Linked DNA regions of Homo sapiens: region 2 is linked to region 1. The links are contacts of gene promoters, found by promoter capture Hi-C in human tissues and cell types (Jung and others, 2019). All regions are on one chromosome and are shown on one strand. The core of a region is centred on a gene start or on the middle of the fragment in contact, and the rest is flanking DNA. Distances in the headings are between cores, read along the strand shown. Region 1 holds the start of SP140L (SP140 nuclear body protein like). Region 2 overlaps SP110 (SP110 nuclear body protein).

Region 1 (4,560 bases), core at 1,856-4,355:
CTAAAAGCTGAAATATTGCCACCAAATGCCCGCTGAGCCCAGGGGATAATTGCATCACAATCATGCAGTTGCAAGGAACTATGATCCCAGCCTCTACCCATCTGGGGCACAGATAGAAGAGAACCTGAGAAGAGAGATGTGTACCCATGTGCTTGAAATCTTTAAGATATAGGCAAAATGAAGAAACAGATGGGGATCAAAATACCAGCTTTATTCCTGATAAGAACTGGATTAGGAATGTGGCTTAGACATGTGGCAGTAAAGGGACCCCTAACACTAAACCCCAGAACTGGCTTATCCCCATGGCATCGAACCCTCCCTCATGCCATGCAGGCCCCTGTCCTTGTGCACTTGAGCTTGGAGGGGCCAACAGAGTCTTGGTCTCTGCAGGCAGGATGACTCCAGGGACACCCAGCAAGGAGCAGGCTCACTCCCACTCCTAGAGAAGAGTCCCCTAGAAGAGAAGAGTCCCCTAGAAGATGGGTGGGGACCAAGCCTTGATTGATTGATGTTCCACCTCCTAGAAGGAGACAGTTTGGCAGGACTGGCTGCTCCCACTAAAGATCCCAGGCGCCTACTCTTCACTCGTCACTTCTACGTCCCTTGGAGGCTGGCCAGGTTCTCTATTCTCATGCCCCAGTGGCACTGTTGCTGCAGCTGCCTCCTGCCCTGAAACTCTCTGGTCCATAACGCCAATGACCTCATCTCAGGGATAGACCTCTGGGTTCCCACATGGGGGTCCCAGGTTCAAGAATCACAGCCCCTCCCCACCCCTCGCCACTGAAGTCTGAACTGAAGCTGCTTTTGGTGAAGCTCACGAAGGCCCATCACCTGGATGGGTGCCCTGCCTGTGGTTCTTCCTCAATCACTGCCTCTCCTGCTTCTGAGTTTTCCAGGCTCCAGTAACTGGAACTACTTCTGTGACAGCAAAAACATTCCCTGTTGCCTGTACTCCTTGCAGCCATAGAAAATGCTCCAGGAGTTCCATTATTTCCTTCTAAACAATCCAGCAGGATTTTTAGAACTTCATACTACTTCTTAATTTGGTCCTGTCCCTTTCCCAACCCAGGTGTGTCTGATGTATTCCAGATCAAAGAAACTTTGCTTTTCCCACAGAAGCCTAGAGATTCTCCATTAACTGGCATTGCTTTTGCAGAGTGTGGTGTGTGCTCAGCTTTTTCCAACCCTGTCTGACAAGAACATCTCCTTCCCTGCTGTCAGGAGCTGCCCTAGCAAGGGCATGTCCACCTGTAAAGGTCAACACTTGCAGATTTCCAGCCAGCTCATTGGTCTGGAATTCCAGCCCCTAAGCACACCCAGAGAAAAGCTGGTACATATGTCAGTGCCACTCAGTGGCCTGGGCCTGCTTGCTGCCCAAGAGCAGTGAGAGGGGTGAGTGCAGACGCCAGAGCCGACTGGTGTGGTCCGCGCCAGGCCTTGTCAGTGCTGCTGTGCTCCATGGAGACTGGGATCAGAGGACAACTGTGCCCAACAGATGCTCAGCTTACCAGCCACTGTGCCTCCATAAAACTGGGGAGTCATGGGGGAGCGAGCAAGAGAAAGAGAGAGAGAGACCTACAGGTGTGCAGTACCTGATAGAAACAGTGACCTCGCCCACTGGAAAAGCTGTCCTCACCAGTGTCTTGGCACCTGCTTATTAACTCATTTTGGGGAAAGCAGGGCACCAGTAGAATCAGGGTAGAAACCCCCCACCCTCGTATTTTCAAATGTACCTGAACAAGCATTCACAGCTTCCAACTATTGTGCAATAAACAGCAAAAAAAAAAAAAGTCCTTGAACCAAAATTGTCCTTAGCTGCTCTGCCCTCTAAGATGGGGCATAGTTTACATGGGAGTTGGGGGAGGACTCCATGTTTGCCCCTTCCCCTTGCTGAGATGGCTGGGGGTGGGGGCTGGAAAAAGTTGGATTCAGCAGAATGTAATTTGGAAAACATGGCTCTGGAGCACCATCCCCTCTGGCCCCTGAATCCTCACCAGCTTCCACCCTCTGCTCACCTTGGGCCCTGGATTCCAGCGCCCCCAGGCTCCCAGCTGCCTCCCTGTCTCTGCCCCATGGTCCAGCCTGGAGTTCTGGTCCCTGGTTGTGTCCTGTGGCCCCATTCTCATGCGCCCTTTGCTTCTATTTCTTTACCTATGACTTTATACTGATGTAAAGCGAGTCTTCTCGGTCGCTTCTTGTTCTCTGAGGAATGTTGAATCAGAATCTAAATGGAAAATCTGGGAAGAGATAGAACCTCCCGCGGGAGCCACCCTGCCCTTCCATGTCTAGATCATCTGGGTTCCAACCTCCATCCTCCTCCAATGAGAAGCTTTTGTTCTCTCAAGATTCCAGTGACTTCTCCGAAGCTCTCTTCATCCCTGGCTGTTCCAAGGTGGCCCCATAGTCAAGATTCCTTAAACCCTTGCCCCTTAAAATGTTTGCCTTTCTTACCATGCTGGCTCCAGCCTCTGGTCCCAGGGGTGTGGAGAGTTCTCTCTTACTTCTGGCTGATTTCCAGGAAGGCTAAGAACACTCTCCCCAGGTTATAATGCTGAGCATTTTGGTTCTCTCCAGCCCTGGGTCCCCATGTCAGGACCTACCTTAGTCCAGTCCATGCTCTCCCATGGGCCTGAGAGAAGATTTGAAGTTTCTGGCTTTCCCTCCAACCCTCCAACTCTCACCCCCAGCCATTTCAGCAAGGGGAAGGGGCAAACATGGAGTTTTCCCCCCAACTCCCATGTAAACTATGCCCCCTCTTAAGAGGGCAGAGCAGCTAAGGACTATTTTGGTTCAAGGACATTTTTTTTTTTTTTGCTGTCCATTGCACAAGCAAGTGGACTCCCGGAAGCCAGCCCTGCTCGTCCTCTGGGCCCTCCTTTCCCTGGTCCTGCAGGTCTTGCTGCTTGTCAGGCCTCTCCTCCAACCGTCTGCCACATTTCAGAAAAGCTGAGAACCCCTTGGAGTGAAAAAGGAGGAGAAACACGGTGTCTGTATCCCAGCAGGAAGTTAAATAAATACTTTCACTTTTCTTTTCCCCATTTGGGCAGAAATCTGTGAGGGTGAGTCAGTCTGTCGGCCGACTTCCTGCTCCGGGTCAGGGCAGCCACACTGCACGCAGGCTGGGCCGACTGGGGAGCTCATAGGCCAGGCTCTGACACCCAGGCAGGGCCTAGGGTGGGACGATGGCAGGTGGGGGCAGCGACCTGAGCACCAGGTGAGTCTTTATCTCTCTTCCTTTCACCTTTATCTCTGGCAGTATTGGAGCTTTCATGCCTGTAGTTCAGTTTCTGTCTAAAGCTTCAGTTTAGTCCTGCTTTGCAAGAACATAGGTAGGTAGTGTAATATAATGGAATAAAAGAGAATGTAATAAGGAAATCAGATTTTTACAACTGCAGCAGGACAGCTGTTTGTGTGAGTCCAGCTTGCCATAACACAGATGACTTTTCTTGTTTTGAAACTACTGCTCAGCTGGCGGGGACACTCTGAACAGTCGTTTCAGTCATTTGTGACTGAGAGTTATTATTTCCTCATGAGAATGAGGAACACAAATTATATGTTTGTGTTTCAACAAACATTTCCTCATGATCTCCCAACCCTTTCACATCCCTCTGCCCTCTCTACCTTCACATATGTCATGTCAAAGAAGGTAGTTTGGAAATAGACACTCCAGGGTAAACAGCTGGCTTACTTTTAAACATTGGAAACTGTGGTTTCACCTGTCTTGGCAAGGGGCCTCAGTCAGCTTTGGGGCTATTTCCTTGACTGACTCAGGGTGTGAGTTCTGATACAATTGACCTTGATCCAAAGAAGGAAAAAGAAGAAAAAGGCCCAGGATGGCAGAAAGCTAAATATTTTTATTTTTACTTCAATTTCCTGTCCCAAGATGGGGGATGCCTCTGACCAGAAAAGAGATGGAAATCCTATCTTTTCTCTAGTAACGAGTTTATAAATAACATTACGTAATCTTTTTATTTTATTTCATTTTTTTGAGACAGGGTCTCACTCTGTCAACCAGGCTGGAGTGCAGTGGCACAATCCCGGCTCACTGCAACCTCTGTCTCCTGGGTTCAAGCGATTTTAATCTTTTAAATTTTTTAATACAAAAGAAATACATTACATTCTTACTCATAAAATTTCAAACAGTGGAGAAGTGTATAAACGAAAAAGTCTTCTTCACCACTCACTTCGCCTTGTAGCTTCCTTTCACAGTCTTGTGAAGAGTCTTCGGCATAACTTTTCTCATATTTTTCGATGCATTTACGTGTATGAAGTATGTTTTTGTAAACATATAATTTGTGTTCTCGTTTTGTAATAAATGGAATTACATTGTGCGTGCTATTCTGCATTTTGCATTTCTACTCATTTTAATGGTGGAAATCTTAGAGATCTTTTCACCTTAATGCATATAGATCTACCTCACTCTTTTTACATATACTATTCCATAGAATTTACATAGCATAATTTTTTAACCATTCTCCAATTGAAGGACATTTAGATTGTTTTAAATTGTTCACGTTTATCAATAAGCTATAATAATGATTATATATTTCTCTTTTTTTT
Region 2 (4,714 bases), core at 2,215-4,714, 150 kb before region 1:
GTGAAGAGGGCTTGAAAGTGAAATGCAGCTTAGAAACAGTGAAGCCAGGCGAGTGTCTAGACATGCACACGGATGGGGCAGCCAAGCCCAGTCAGCATTCCAGCCATGCTTCCCAAGGCGCACAGGGTGTGTGGGATTTTGTTTAGACTCTGAGTTTGGGCATTAAATCGTCATCCTTTAAAGGGAGACATTGAAGGCTCCCTTTGGTACATTGCCCTGACCCTGTGCCTGTTTGTGCTTCTCGTGTGAGAAGGGAAAAGTATAGGTTTGGGGTTTGCATCCAACTCACCAGCTGGTCCTGAGGCTGCATCTGCCTCTCCAGGGTCTTAGATACATGATGGCACTGTTGGCTTCCTGAAGACCTCTTCATCCTGCAGAAGGTGCAACTCCACAGCATCCTGAGAGGTTGGACACAAGGTGAGCAGAGGGCAAAGCCCCTGGAAATGGCCACCATTCCTGTGGCTGCCACTGTCTTCCCTCAGGAAGGATGGGCTCAGCCATGAGGGTGGGACACCTCCCAGAGTGTCCAAGATCCCCACATGGGGTCTCCAGCATTGGCCCTTCCCTCGCATCAGTGGTAGCGGCAGGCGGGCAGCCTGAGGAAGGTGGTGTCACTGTTAAGTGTGGGCTCTCTTTTCCCTGTCTGAGCTGCTGGGAGCACAAAGGAACCCTGCCTGCCAGGCTTGAGTGTCAGAATCTGGGCTTTCACCTGCAGGGACCTCAGGCCTCCATCAGCCAGGTGAGACTATGGTGAAATGTGTGACAAGCCGTGCTTCCTGTCTTTCCTCAACAGGCACAGAACATAAGCTGGCTTTTCCCGTCCCCTCCTCCTTTTGGACAGGAGTCCCTGCTGTCCAGGGAATAGCATACTAGGAAAGGGCACTTCCAGGGGCAGAAGCAGTGTGGGGCCAAGAGGCTCACTGGCAGTCTCAGAGACCCAGAGAGGCCCAGAGTCTCTGGCACCAGACTGCTCTGCGTCACACCCTCGTCCCCGACGCTCACAGGTCCTGCCCTTTCCATCTGGAGGTGAGTGCTGTGTGCCCGAGGCGGGGCTGCATCCCACTCACCTCTTGGCTTCCACAGGGGGGATGTGACAGTCCTCATGGAAGACTCGTGGACAAGTACCGCAGCAGAGAAGTTGTCCCCCTTGACAGCACACCTCGCATTCATCCGAGTTTTTCCGCTGCAAGGGCAGATAACGTGGGCACCGCTAGGACCATGGAGACCCACGAATGCTGACCCTGTGGGGTTCTAGAACACATCATTTTTGTGTGTGCCAGAGTGGATATCCAAACCCAATTTTTGATGGGGGGAGCTGATGCCACCTCCCTGGGGGAAATTGCAAGACAAATGGCACAACAAGCAGAGAGTCTGGGTGGTGACCGCCGCCACCAGGACTTTTCTTCTCTGGCTGTGGCTTGCCAACAGGTTCTGCTGCGTTTTGAGCTGTGCTGCTGCCTGCTGGCAAGCTTGTGCTTTGAGCTGGGCCACTCTGGGCGCATTTGCTGAGCCCACCAGGCCTCTATTAATAGATCTGACTGACCAAAGTAAGAAATGATGATAACTGGCATTTGGGTGCAGGAGTATGGGAACTGTTGTTCCTGGTGCCTTGCCTAACTGCCCCATGGTCGTAACATAACATGGCCCTAAAATGTTCCACAGTGGGCATGGATGCTATGACCCAGTAAATAACACATTAAAATAATTAAAATTAAGTTACCTTTGGCACTTACAATTGGCTTTACAAAATGGAACTCTATGGACCTTCTCTGTTAAAATATTTAATACTGATCAATATGAATTAAAACACGGCTTTCAAGGATTGAAACTCATTATGGAAGATCTATTTAGAGAAAGGGTGATTATCCCCACTGTTTCTCCATTTAACAGCCCAATTTGGTCTGTTCTTAGGCTTGGAAAGAATGAATGGTGCCTCTCGGTGAATTACTACAACCTGAATCCTGTGACCCCACCTGTGATGGCCCAATGTTATTGAAATTACTGACTCCATCCACTTAGCAAGTGGTAAATACTCTGCAGGCATAGATTTGACTAATGTGTTCTGTTCAGCGCCTATTTCAACAGATCTCAGCTGCAGGTTGCTTTCACCCCCGAAGGGACACAATAGACCGTTATCTGGCTACCACGGGGTACCTCGACAGTTCTGCCACCATACACAATCTTTGCAGGCAGGATTTGAACTGCATCTGACATTCTCTAGGAGTACAGGTGTAACATCACCCTGAAGACACCCTTCTTTCAGCAAATTCATTTGACACACTCAGGACATTACTCACAAAGAACTCATAGAAAAGGATGGGGTTTGTGTTTCCACATGGTGGGATTAAACTAAAACAAAAAAGTATGGGCCACTGCCCCAGGCATAGTACAGGGATCCACACCAATTTCTGGCCATTGTCTGGTCAGTTGAGGGATGCTCCATCCCTGACACTGTCAAAAAATAATTATTGACCCTCTGAGTACTCACAGTGTTCTAATAAACCTCCCAGCATCCTTCAGGCCTCTTGAGTTCAAGGAAACACATCCTTCATTTGTAGATTTTAGGTAAGCCCATTTACGCTGTTACTTGCAAAATAAGCCCACTTTGAATGGGGCCCCTTCTAACAAAAGGTTCTAGAATCTGTCAAATTGCAATACAGCAGACATTAGTGCCCTCCTGAGTCTCATTCACTGTGGAAGCTTTGGCAACCTCCTCTCATGCCTCCTGGCATCTCTGGACCACCCATGATGGCCATGGGCTTCTGATACAAAAAAAAACCAAAACCCCAAAAGCTGTTCTCCTCAGCCTCACACTATATGCTGATAGAGTGGCAACTGCTGGCTGCATCCAAGCCCTTCTGGAGACGGAGGCTCTCACAGGCCAAGTCTGTGGCTCTTTACACCAGCTGCCCATCATGTGTGGGTCATGGAGGCAGCACGCTGCAGGGCAACCACAAAACACATTTTGGGAGTACCAGCATCGGTCTCTTTGTTGTACACATACATAAGTGAGACTGCAGTGGAGACAGACGGACGTGCTGCCGAGCAGCAGTGACACTGGATGATGGGGCTGAGGGCAAGGCCCGCACTGGCTCATTCTCAGTCGGGTAAACCTTCATCTTATTCTCCCAACCTGGCCCTGGAAGGTGGGACTGAGAGGCTGGGTCAAGCATGCCCCTGGCTATTATGAGCTGACATGTGGCATTAGGAGAGTTAGAGGGTATTACCATGTTGGGGCTATTAATTAATGATCTGGATTTTAAAGATTTTTTTTTTTCTGGTTGCAAAAGTAACAAATGGTCATTATAGTAATTCCAATTGTACATAAAGGTATAATACAGAAGGCATATGTCCCTGTGATCTCATCTCAAAATAAGTGCAGTTGATTCTTTTGGCTATTTTTTCACTCATAGACCTACCTACACGTTCACATAAGCAACAATGGGTTCCTTCCCCACACGTCACAACTAGCATTAAGTGTCCTGAAGCTCTCCTGACCACAAAACCATTTGGTGGCTTTCCATTGATTGAAGGATAACTCCATACTTATGAATCCATGTATTTAAACAAATATCTATATCAAAGGTCTAATATTCTATAAGAAAAGTTTAAAAAAAAACCATTCTGTAGCTGTATCAGTTTATTCTGCAATACTGATAGAACTTGTGTTCGTCCCTAATTTTTTGCTATTATGATGTTACACTGAGCACCCCTGATTCTCAGGGTATTTCAGACCAGCATGGGAAAGATGATTTATATAATAGATGGCATTGGGAGACCAGTGCCTTAAACTTTGAATGAATCCAGCCTGGTCAGGCCAGCCTCCAGGGCAAGATGGGGGAGGCACCATTGTCTCTGCTGGAAGTTCACAACTAACGGGAAGCTCATGAGTGGAGCTGATGTGTCTGGAGAACACATCTAAGCAAGTAGAGGAGGTTGAGGAGGGGGAGTTAGTGCAGCCAATAGATGACTGCCATTTCCAGCTGTAGGGATGCCCTGTAGAGACAAAGCTCAGTTCAAAGGCGTCATTCCATCCTGGTGCTACCAATAAGAAGCATGGAGGATTCAGCAATACTCAGTATGCAATCATGGATGATCCTCTTGTCCTTTCATATACTGTTCCTGTCTATTTCAATGCCTTTTCTTTTGCTTTTCATGCTGCAGCATTCTTTTTTTTTTTTTTCTGAGACAGGGTCTTGCTCTGTTGCCCCAGCTGGAGTGCAGTGGCATGATCTCGCCTCACTGCAACCTCTGCCTCCAGAGCTCAAGTGATCCTCCCACCTCAGCCTCCTGAGTAGCTGGGACTACAGGTGCATGCCACCATGCCTGGCTAATTTTTGTATGTTTTGTAAAGAAGGGGTTTTGTCCTGTTGCCCAGGCTGGTCTCAAACTCCTGGGCTCAAGGGATCCACCCACCTTGGTCTCCCAAAGTGCTGGGATTACATCGCTCTGTATAGCAATACAGAGTCTCACTATATCACTCAGGCTGGTCTTGAACTCCTGGGCTCAAGCAATCCTCCTACCTCAGCCTTAGCTGGGACTACAGGTGCACACCACCATTCCTAGTTGATTAAAAAAAAATTTGTTAGAGATGGGGTCTTGCTATGTTGCCTAGGCTTAGAGCATTTTATTTCTGACACCTTTGGTTTATAGCCATCCAAATATCCAGATCTTTTTCTAAAACACATGGACATGATGAGCTTTTTCATTTAAT

The links. The method cuts DNA at HindIII sites, captures the fragments that hold promoters and counts their contacts. A contact is called where the count stands out against the background at its distance.
Region 2: a fragment that was not itself captured here is called in contact with the fragment with the promoter of SP140L in region 1 in 1 of the 25 tissues and cell types used here (mesenchymal stem cells).

What each region holds. Positions count from the first base shown.
Region 1 is chr2:230,324,088-230,328,647 of GRCh38, forward strand. SP140L (SP140 nuclear body protein like) reads left to right here and starts at 3,106. Exons shown (of 19, transcript NM_138402.6): 1 at 3,106-3,214. The coding sequence starts at 3,183. RefSeq lists an enhancer at 2,780-3,249. The HindIII fragment of the contact is 8,396 bases long and covers 643-4,560 here.
Region 2 is chr2:230,171,777-230,176,490 of GRCh38, forward strand. SP110 (SP110 nuclear body protein) reads right to left here. Exons shown (of 19, transcript NM_080424.4): 15 at 1,068-1,183; 16 at 290-398. Among named protein-coding and RNA genes, the nearest start is that of SP110, 46 kb to the right of the region's middle. The HindIII fragment of the contact is 8,617 bases long and covers 1-4,714 here.